Linked DNA regions of Homo sapiens: region 2 is linked to region 1. The links are contacts of gene promoters, found by promoter capture Hi-C in blood cells and fetal thymus (Javierre and others, 2016). All regions are on one chromosome and are shown on one strand. The core of a region is centred on a gene start or on the middle of the fragment in contact, and the rest is flanking DNA. Distances in the headings are between cores, read along the strand shown. Region 1 holds the start of AGO2 (argonaute RISC catalytic component 2). Region 2 overlaps DENND3 (DENN domain containing 3).

The links. Contacts are between HindIII fragments. The CHiCAGO score rates a contact against its expected background, and 5 or more counts as called.
Region 2: a contact is called between a fragment that was not itself captured here and the fragment with the promoter of AGO2 in region 1, in 1 of 17 cell types (total CD4 T cells). The highest score is 5.3, in total CD4 T cells.

What each region holds. Positions count from the first base shown.
Region 1 is chr8:140,633,101-140,638,131 of GRCh38, reverse strand. It overlaps AGO2 (argonaute RISC catalytic component 2), which reads left to right and starts at 2,499. Exons shown (of 19, transcript NM_012154.5): 1 at 2,499-2,647. The coding sequence starts at 2,626. ERICD (E2F1-regulated inhibitor of cell death) reads right to left here and starts at 3,897. Exons shown (of 1, transcript NR_170171.1): 1 at 1-3,897. RefSeq lists silencers at 1,935-2,334, 2,985-3,154, 3,638-3,687 and enhancers at 3,494-4,260, 4,261-5,028. The HindIII fragment of the contact is 24,992 bases long and covers 1-3,931 here.
Region 2 is chr8:141,182,322-141,187,781 of GRCh38, reverse strand. It overlaps DENND3 (DENN domain containing 3), which reads right to left. Exons shown (of 23, transcript NM_001352890.3): 18 at 2,504-2,643. Among named protein-coding and RNA genes, the nearest start is that of DENND3-AS1, 55 kb to the right of the region's middle. RefSeq lists enhancers at 2,426-3,380, 4,081-4,220, 4,301-4,350, 5,111-5,220. The HindIII fragment of the contact is 3,747 bases long and covers 2,337-5,460 here.

The sequences.
Region 1 (5,031 bases), core at 1,250-3,749:
CTTTAGACTGAGTGCACCCAGTGTGCAGAGCTGCAGGCCAGGCTGCTGCAAATGTCCCTGGCTGTGATTAGAGCCCACGGTCTTATCAAAGCATCAGGATCCTAAAACACAGAGGAAGGAATTGTATCAGGGAGAAGCACTGGGTCCAGAAGACCCAGAGTCGGCTGAGTCACCATCCGGGTGTGGGACGTGGGTCTGGGGGACAGAGCAGCAAGGGCTGGAGACATGTCACAGCAAGCACCGAGACGCACAGTCAGATGAGTTAAGCAGGTTCACTAATGGCAGGAGAGGTAACAGGCAGAGGGGACTGCAGTTCTCAGCTCCGTTGGGTGGTGGATCTGTTAGCCATGCTGAGTGAGGGACACCAGAAGAAAAGCAGGTTGGGAGGAGGGTAGGGATGGGGCTGCAGGAAGCGGGCTGAATTCCTGAACACAGGTGTGGAGGGTAGAGACCTGCAGAGAATGGGCTTATCTAGGAAAAGAGCAGAGGGAACCCCGTGCCCCAGAGGGCGAACCCAGTGACTGCATGGGCCCTGGGGATAGAGATGGGGCAGGCAGCAATGGCACCCCTCCGCCAGCAGAGGGCCACGGTGTCCGCCATCCAAAGAGAAGTGACACAATGAAGCCCTCAGAGACATTATCTTGCCTTCTGGAACGAAATCCTTGCAACAAAGTTCCCCAACACAGCGCTCAAAGGAGCTGAAGGCGGGCTGAGGGCAGCCAGTGATGACAGAGCCTTCTGGGCCTTTGCTGAGGCGTGCAGTCGCTGACAGCAGGGCAGTTGGGCCTCAGGGATTTCGGGCCAAAACGAGTTTTGGGGATATGTGAAGGAGACAGGGGCAGAGAGAGAGGGTGGGCATCTGCGAACTGGGAAGATTGATGAGGTTGCATGGTTCATAAATAGGAAAGTGGTAACATTCATGATTATTTAAAAATTTCCGTGAAATACTACAGTAAAGGTACAGAAAAGCATATAAAGTAAAAGTGCAGTTTAAGGGATGGCTGCCAAAGGGCACCATTGCAGGAAGGAACAGGCCTGGCACCCCCAAATCCCCCAGGGGCCCTGCTGTGGTCACAGCCCTCTCACCCCCAGCTGTATCCACCATTCTGACACTTAGAGTAAGCACCTTCTTGCCCTTCTGTCAATTATTTACTACTTAATGATGCTTCCCTAAAGAATGCAGTTTAATTTTGCCTGTTTTGGAATTTTTGTGAATGGCTAGATTCCATCCTGTGAATATGAGCACACTGTTTCTCCATCCTGCTCTCCGTGGGTATTCAGTGCCATGCAGTCCAAGCGGTGATGAAGAATGCCATGCACACTCCTACCCAGGTTTCCTGGTGTTCATTACTACACATTTCAGGAGCACGTTTTGTATCGGCAACTTGGTGAAGACTGATGTCCTTTTGAGTTTTCGGAGGAAGTGCTGGTTCTCCTGCCCTTCTTCAGGGCTGTCCTCCGAGACTGCAGAGAACTAGTGACCACCCTGCTGGCTGCGGAGCTCCTGTCAGTCAGAACTCCTGTTTATTCTCCGCCCGGAACAGGGCCTTGCACCCATATGCAGACAGCCGATGCCACGGGGTGAAGGAATGCTCCGGGAAATCTGGGAAAAGGCGACCAGGCACTTTAGATTGTGGGTCAACCTCTGCCTTCTAATCCTCCATCACTTAGGGGAGAAAGGAGGTAGCCACAGGCTGGCTTTTCCAGGAAAGCCTCCGAAAACCAGACGGACCCAGAGGGACCGGACAGAAACGCTCGGAGGTGCACGACGGTCCGAGCAGGCCCCTGACTGCTGGAATGGGCGTGTCCGCTGATCTGATCCCTGATACCAGCTACAGTTTACTAAAAACTTCTTAGATTTTCTCAGTGCTTTAAACGGATTATCTGGGTTCTGGGGCCGCGCCGGGAGGTGGCGGTGTGGTCCTGCGCGAGCGGCCGGCCGCGTTCAAGTTCAAGCTCCGGGCTGGGAGGGAGCTTCCCGACCTCCGTGTTTCTGTAGTAACTTAAAGAGCCAGGCTGGGGGCCGAGGGGCTGAGGGTGGGAGGGTTCTGCGCCCCCCACCGGGGGGCGGCGGGGAAAGCGGGGGCGCGTGGCCTCCCCTCCGGCTCCGGCGGCACAGCCGGGGGGCCCGGCTCCTCCCCGTCGGGAAGACGCGGCTTCTCTGGGTGGCAGTGAAGGGTCCCCGGGGCCGCGCCCGCCCCCGCGCCACACGGGCCGCGCCGCCCTCGGCCCTCGTCCCCGCTCCCGCCCGCGGTTCCCACCGCCCGGCGAGGTCTCCGGGCCCCTCCCCGGGTCCCCGCCCCAGGCCCCGCCAGACCCGGCGCCGCCGCCGCCGCCGCCGCGGACCCCGCCCGCGCGCCCAGCCCCGCTCCCCCCGCGAGCGCGCTCCCGCCGCCGGCCTCGCCTCCCCTCCCCCTCCCTCCTCCTTCCTCCCCCGCCCCTCCCGCTCCCGCTCCCGCCGCCGCCTCCGCCCGCCGCCCCGGCCGCGTCGGGTAAACCTGTTTGGCGAGGCGGCCGCGCCGGGGCGGATCGTGCGGCCGGCGGCTCCCTCGCGGCTCGCGGCGTCGGGGCCCGTGGCGCGCGCGCGGCCGCCCCTCGGCCCCGGAGCCCCTCGGCGGCGCCACCATGTACTCGGGAGCCGGCCCCGGTGAGTCCTGGCGCTCGGGGCGCCCGCCCGGCCGTTCGCGCGCTCCTGCCCGTGGTTGGCGGGCCCGGCGCGGGCGGCAGGGGCCGGGGATCGGGGGGCCGCGGGGTCGGGGCGGCGGGGGCCGGGGGCGGGCGAGCCGGGGCCGCGCTTGGGGGCTCGAGGAGCGGCGGCGGCGGGGCCGAGCCGGCCGTTTTCTCGGCCCCGCGTTGGACGCGCAGCCCCGGCCTCCTCGGCCCCCGCGAGTCGTCGGGGCGCCCCGCGCGGCCTGGGCCCCTCCCGCGCCTCGGGCCCGCGTCCCAGCGTCCTCGCATCCCCCGCCCGGGGCCCGCGGGCTGGGGCCGGGGCCGAGGCGGCCGCCGCGTGTAGGCCCGAGGCCCGGAGCGCCCCGCTTGGCCCGGCCTCGCTGCCCGGGCGGGGATGGGGGCGCCGCAGCCCGGCCCGGCCTGACCCTGAGCGCCTGAGCGGGTGGAGGCCGGGTCGGGGCGCCCGGCTCGGGGCGCGCACGGGCGGGAGGGGAGGGGGCTGCGCCGGTCCCGACCCCAGCCGCGGTGAGTCTGTGGCGCGCTCCGTTGTGGCCCTTCTTGTTGCCGGCACTTCTTCGGCCCCTTTTCCCAAGGAAAGTCTGGAAATGCTGAATTTTGGCCAATTCCTGTAGTTAGGGCTGTCGCCTGGAAAGGGGAGGACGCGGCTCCCCGGAACCCTCAAACTGCGTGCGCGGCTCGTTCTCATTCCAGACACGCCGGCCTCCCCATTCAAGTGCTAATTCCTTTTACAATTTCCTAGGAGAGGTGAGGCGAGGTGGATTCCTGTAGCACCCCTTGTTGCTAGTCGGCCTTTCTCTGGAAAAGTTCTAAAAAACTTAAAGCGGTAACGCGTTGTTTTTCTTTTTAAATGCAGAGTAGAAGGCGGTCTCCTTGGTGGGCCAAAAAAACGGTCAGGTGTTCTCCTGCTTTTGGCGTGCTCCCACCGGGCACGTGGCTCCTGGCTCTCTCGGCCGGCCTGGCCGCTGGGACGGGGCACCGCCTGCTCCCCTTTGTCCGCTGGGCCCCAGCCGGGCCGCAGGCGGCGCAGGCCCCGCCGGGCTCTGGGCTTATGTTTACCCGGCCGGGCGAGGAGGCTCGCATTCCCGATGCTGCCCTCGTTGCTGCAGACCGGCCCCAAATTGTGGGGTCCGGAAGGCCCCCTGGCCCACCTTGGTCCGTTGATGGTGGCCCCCACTGCTGGAGCTGTTGGCTCTGTGCCTTGCGAATGTCGCGTCTTTTTTCTGATGTCATTTAGAAAGCTTCAACAAGGCGGAGTCTGACCAACTTTTCAACCCCTGAGGGCCATCAGCAGTTTGAAGAATGATTTTCCCCCTCCACCTGGGAGGGGCCGCAGTCCTGGAGCAGGTGCTGGCCTCTAGAGGCCTTGGGTGGCCAGGCCCCCTCTTGGGAAAGGACCGGGCATCCCCTTGTGAGTTGGGACCTTCCAGCTCCTCTTTGTAGAGGAACCCAGCTTATGGGACTGACAGCACTACATTTTTTCAGGTTATCGGTTTTAAAAGTTGGAGGCCCAGAAAAAGTGAAGAGGCTTTAAGGAAGGTCAAGCTTTCTGTGTTGTGTTTTGCGTGTTACTTAATTCACTCCACTTGCTGAGGTTGGTGGTGTTTGTGAAGACAGACAGCCGAGGCTCACAGAGGTTGAGAACTTCACCAAGGTCACACAGCAGTGAGTGAGTATCAGGACAATCGGTCCGACTTCCGAGCTGGTTCTCTGGGTGCCTTCCTCAGGGCAGTCCCTTTCAAGCCCTATAACCCAGACCCACAGTAAGAAGTCTCTGTTAGGGCTGGACTGGACCAGCACCTGCCCGCATACTTGTCATTGACAGCGGGGCTTCAGGAAGCCACCCCAGCTCACTGCTGTACTGTGTGCACTGCCCCGGGATGCTGTCTTGTCGATTTCATTTTTCAGCGTACCTTGGCCCTCATGATCCACAGGCTCGTTTCTGTCACTCGCTGCTTTTTGGAGATTGTTGCCTTGGTGTGGGCCTGGTAGGGAGTGGACCCTCTGGAACAGGACAGTGGTTGAAAGAATAAATGTGTCTGCAGGATAATTCATAGCTAATGGCAGGATGGGAATGAACCCAAGTTTCAGGTTGTACAAACGTGCTGTAATTATAAGTCTGTGGTGCAGTTCCATTTTATGCTACACATTAAGGCTTTTAATTTTGTGTAAAAGGAATTTTTGGAATAGTCTTCATTGAGACTCTTTTTAATCTTATACTTTCTAATTTAGAATTATAAGACATTCAATTTGAATTATAGAAAAATTACATTGGGAGGCCAAGGCGGGCGGATCACGAGGTCAAGAGATCGAGACCATCCTGGCCAACATCATGAAACCCCG
Region 2 (5,460 bases), core at 2,961-5,460, 550 kb before region 1:
GTATCATGGATCCTATTACTTTATCATCTGAGGCTCATGATTTGAATATGGGGGGAAATGATTTAGCAGGCTCTTATTACCTTCTAACATGTAAAGTTTGCTATTCAGGTATCTCAAGAGTGGTCCCACCCTCTTGGTGGTATGTATTTGAGTTCACAGTATTTGTTTTATAGCAGTTTTGCAAGCACATACTGTGCCACGGATTTTCCCACATTATTTTTAGACAAGGGAACACAGCCATCAAAACTGATACCATGGCCGGGCGCAGTGGCTCACACCTGTAATCCCAGCACTTTGGCGGGGCCGAGGCGGGAGGACTGCTTGAGCCCAGGAGTTTGAGACCAGCCTGAGCAGCACGGTGAAACCCCATCTCTACTCAAAATACAAAAATTAGCCGGGTGTGGTGGTGCGCACCTATATAGCCCCAGCTACTCGGGAGGTCCAGGCTGCAGTAAGCAGCGATTGTGCCACTACACTCCAGCCACGGGCAATGGGAGAGGGACCCTGTCAAAAAAAAAAAAATGGTACCAGCCAATGCCTAATATATACTTAGGTATATACTCCACTGGAGTGTTCTTTTCACATTAAACATGTAAAAAAAAAAAAATCCTATCATGCTCAAGGAGTAAGGCATGAGGATTTCTCAGCAGATCCCATGATGGGGTGGCTGCTTGGAGGGTGACCAGATAGGAGGAGAGTGTAGATGCGAAAATATTTTGAAAACTATAAAATGCAATTTAAATGTGAACGTCATCTGCAAATCCATGAGCAAGAACAGGAGAAACATGGACAAAGGGCGCGCAGGCCACGGTGCGGGGGAGTGTGGGGTCTCAGAGCACGGGGAGCTACTCAGCGGCCTCTCGGGCGACAGGGAAGCGCACACAGATCCGCAGGGAGGGGCAGCTCACAGCGCTGACGGGCAAACAGGGAAAATCCCCAAGAAATGATGGTCTGCAGGCAGGAGGGGCCGCTGGGGGCCTGGAGGGATGAGCAGGGCAGGAATCCCAGCTTCCACACTCAAGATACCATGGTCATGGAAGAAGCGACACACCATGGCACTGCCAAGGACACACTACTAAAAATGTATTAACAGTTGCACTTGTTTTAAAATTATCAGAAACAATTCAAACTTGCTTTAAATCAGGGGTGTGCACTCTTGTGGCTTCCCTGAGCCACAGTGGAAGAAGAATTGTCTTGGGCCACACATAAAATACACTAACATTAACGATCGCTGATGAGCTAGAAGGAAAAAGATTGCAAAAAAAACTCAACATATGTTTTAAGAAAGTTTACAAATTTGTGTTGGGCCTCATTCAAAGCCGTCCTGGGCCACGTACAGCCTGCAGGCCACAGGTTGGACAAGCTTGCTCTAAGTGAGAGGAATAATGTGTGACGAGTGGACACTGAGTTTTGCTGGGCCCTGGTCTCTGCCACCTGGCACGTGGGGACAGGTGGATAACACTGAAGTCACTGCAGAGGCAGCTGTCTCCTCTTTTGCTCCAAAAGAGACCCAGTAACCACTGTGCCACCAGGAAACACCAGGGTTCCCAGGAAACACTGCAGGTTCATTTTAAGGCCCTGGTCCCTGGGAACCTTAGTGCTGCAGTACAGGATGGAAGACATCGTTCCCAGCCTGGGCAGCGTGGCAAAACCTCATCTCTACAAAAAATACAAAATTAGCCAGGCATGGTAGCATGCACCTGTAGTCCCAGTTACTCAGGAGACCGAGGTGGATCCCTTGAGCCCAGAAGGTCGAGGCTGCAGTGAGCCATGACTGAACCACTGCACTCCAGCCTGGGCAACAGAGCAAGACCCTGTCTCAAAAAAGAAAAAAAAGAAGGAAATTGTTCCCAAAGTGTGTGAAGCCTGTAATAAGCAGGCAGAGACCACAATGGCTCCACTTCACAGAACTGACGTCGATTTTTATTATTTTATTATTATTATTATTTGTCTGTTTGAGACAGGGTATGGCTCTGTCACCCAGGCTGGAGTGCAGTGGCGCGATCTTGGCTCACTGCAGCCTCGACCTCCCAGGCTCAGCGATCCTACCACCTCAGCTTCCCAAGTAACTGGGACTACAGGCACGCTCCACCATGCCCGGCTAATTTTTGTAGTTTTTGTAGAGATGGGGTCTCACTCTGTTGCCCAGGCTGGTCTCAAACTCCTGGGCTCAAGGCAATCCACCCACCTCAGCCTCCCAAAGTGCTGAGATTAGAGGTGTGAGCCCCTGCAATCTATTTTTAGATGGGGGCCTGAAATCTGTTTTTAGATGAGAAAGTCAAAGCCATTATCTTCTCCTTCAATAAGGACGTGTAAGTAGAAGTTTGGAACAAGCTTACATTTAATTTGAAAACTCCAGGTGAAAGTTAAGACCCCCTGTTTACAGAAACCGAGTGAGGCTGTGGAATAGCTTGTATCCTACTGTCGAATATGGATGAACACACTTGGGTTTCAGAAATCACGTGAATTCAGAGGCTTCTTTCCTGACGCTTCGTGTACTCACCACTTTTGCAGTGCCCACTTTAAAGGAGTGCTGGTGGATGGTCCATGAAGAAGCATTGAACACGGTCACCTTGCCTTCGCTCAGAGCACACCATAACTTGGGGTGAGCATCTTCAACTTTTTCGGCTGGGTCAAGATGCCCTAAAGAGGAGAGCAGCACAAAACTGTTAGGAGGAAACACTTCTGCTGTAGCAGCAGGTGACTGGTGCCCTTACTCAGGTGCCTCCTGGGCCCTCCTAAGCGCCAGGCCCATGTTAGGTGCTGTACGTACAAAGACGTGCCCAGGCAGAGGCTTCCCTGCCCTCTGGGAGCTCAGAGTCAAGGGGGGCAGCTGGCTGGTGAGAGGGCCACAAAGACAGGGTCAGAGCCGCAGGCAGATGCAGAGCCGAATGCCTGTGAGCTTTGCTAAGCCAGGACCTGCCAGCTGAGTGAGCATTCACTAGAGGAAACAGCCAGGCAGAGGGAACTGGAAGAGGAGCAGGTGGACACAGAGGGAGGGAGGCAGGGAGGGAGGGCAGCTGGAGAGACGGCGGCAGGGGCCATGGTGCCCCCCACACCCTCATGTGCAGCGGGCTCCGCGTCTTTCCCAACACTTGCTGGCGTCCGTCCATCTTTTTAATTTCGGCCATTCTAAGGGTGTGGAGCTTTTGGCTTTTAAATTGTGGTTTAATTGCATTTCTCTAATTGCTAATGAGCCTGATGGCTTGAACTGGCCATCCCCATGCCCTCTTGTGGGAAGTGTCTGTTTTTCGTTCTCCCTAGTTTGTGGCTGTTATTTTTTTTTATTTTTATTTTTTTTTACTTTTTAATAGACGAGGTCTTGCCATGTTGCCCGGGCTGGAGTGCAGCAGTGTTCACAGGTGCGATCACAGCAAACCACAGGCTCCGAGTCCAGGGCTCTGGCCACCCTCCCACCTCACTGGGACCACAGGCACGCCCGGCCAGCTGTTCCGGTGTTCTGGATATGAGCCCCTAACTGACTCCATGGTGCTGTATTCATAAATTACGTATGACATATAAAAATACCATAAAGCAAAAGACTGGTGAATCTGACTACATTAAAAGCAATGATTTTAGCAGCACCCATTTTAAAGATCCTTCCCAGTCTGCAGCTTACATTTTCACCCTCTCAAAAGTGTCTTCTGTCCATTTCCTGTGGCAGGGTCTGGGGAAGAGGCTGTAGGCGCCGTGTCCGGCCATGAAGATGGCAAGAAGCCTCTGAGACAGCCCAAGAAGCAGGCCCAGGAGAGGGACAGAGATGATGAGGCTTCCAGCAGAAAGCAAAACAGACCAGAACCTCAAGGGGCCGAAAGCACAGGCCGCAGGGAGGCCCAGCCACAGCTGGAACTAAGACCCCTGGCGGAAAGCACGCTGCTCCCTCTGCCTGGGCGGTGGCGGCCTGGACTCCACTCCTGTTTCAACACCTGCACCCCCGCCAGGACAGCTTTTGCCATCTTCAGCTAGAGTGAGCGTTGCCCTGGAGCCTGTTGCACTTTCAAGCATAAACTTTTCTTTTTTTTTTTAAATTAAAAAAAAAAAAAAACAAAACAAAAAACTGACAGTGTCACCGGACGTCTTCAGTGGCTTCTCACCCGTCATTCCCACCTGAGCCTGCCAGAGGGCGCTCTTTGGTCTTCTACCCTCAATTTTGTGTCACCGTGAATTAAACCAGCTCATTTGAAAGGAGGAAAAAAAAAGTGTCTTCTTTTTAAAATCATTGCTTTTGGCCAGTTGTGGTGGCTCACGCCTCTAACCCAGCGCTTTGGAGTCCAAAACCGGCAGACTGCTCAAGCTCAGGAGTTCAAGACCAGCCTGAGCAATACGGCAAAACTCCATCTCTACAAAAAAAAAAAAAAAAAATACAAAAATTGGCTGGGCATAGTGGTGTGCACCTGCAGTCCAGCTAATCAGGAGGCCGAGGGCGGAGGATCGCTAGAGCCCAGGAGGCAGAGGTTGCAGTGAGGTGTGATCGCGCCACTGCACCTGGGTGACAGAGTCAGACCCTGTCTCAGAAAAAATAAAAATAATAAAGTCATTGCTTTTAATATAGTCAAATTCAACATTCTTTTCCTTTATGGTATTTTATATATAATTTATGCATTTTTTTCTTTACCATAAAGTCATGAAAATATTCTTCTACCCTATCACCTAGAAGTCTGCTTGCTTTCATTGTTCACATTTGCCTTTTACCACCGCGTTGAGGTTTCGGCCCCCTTGGGCCTGACCGCAGGGCAGTGTGAAGGGGCGAGGTTTCACCTTTCCCCTGAGGATATTCAAGCGACCCCCCGCCCTGCAGTGCTGCCTCCGTCCTGAGTCCAGAAGGGCAGGCCTCCCGGTCTTTCTGGGGTGCGATTCCAGTGGTCTGTTGCTCCCATGGGTGAGACACTGCCGTCTCTGAGAGGCACGCTCCCCATGGGCAGAGCCTGAGCTGACCTGTGGCCTGGCCTCAGGGCTGGTTCTCCTAACTCCTAGGAACCTGTCGGAGACCCAGCCCCAAGCTAATGGGAATAACAAGACTCCCCCTTCTTGATGGGGCCTGACCCCACCTCTTGTCCCTGCAATCTCACAAGGCTTGCAAAAGCCCTGCTCGGCTACCAGCTTCTCGGCCACCCCTTCCAGAATCGGCAGCCACAGGAAAAGGCGGTTTCCCCATTCCCCACGGCTGCTTTGCACGCTCTCTGCAGGCCTTCGAGATGCTCCTGGAGGGGAAGCCGCCTGAACTCCTCGCCCGTCACAACAGGAAGCTCAGAGTGAGTTTCATTTCAGGGAAACCAACCGGGACCTAAAAATACCATGTATTCAAATGCCACGGTCAAAGTATCTTGGTCTGTGGAGTCATCTCTGGCGAAGTCAGCACAGAGCCTGGCTTAGACACATCAGGTAGGGCTCACGCGGGGCGGCCCTGATGACGCTGCCTGCTCACTCAGCCAGGGTCTATCGCGTTCCTGGGTTTCTTGG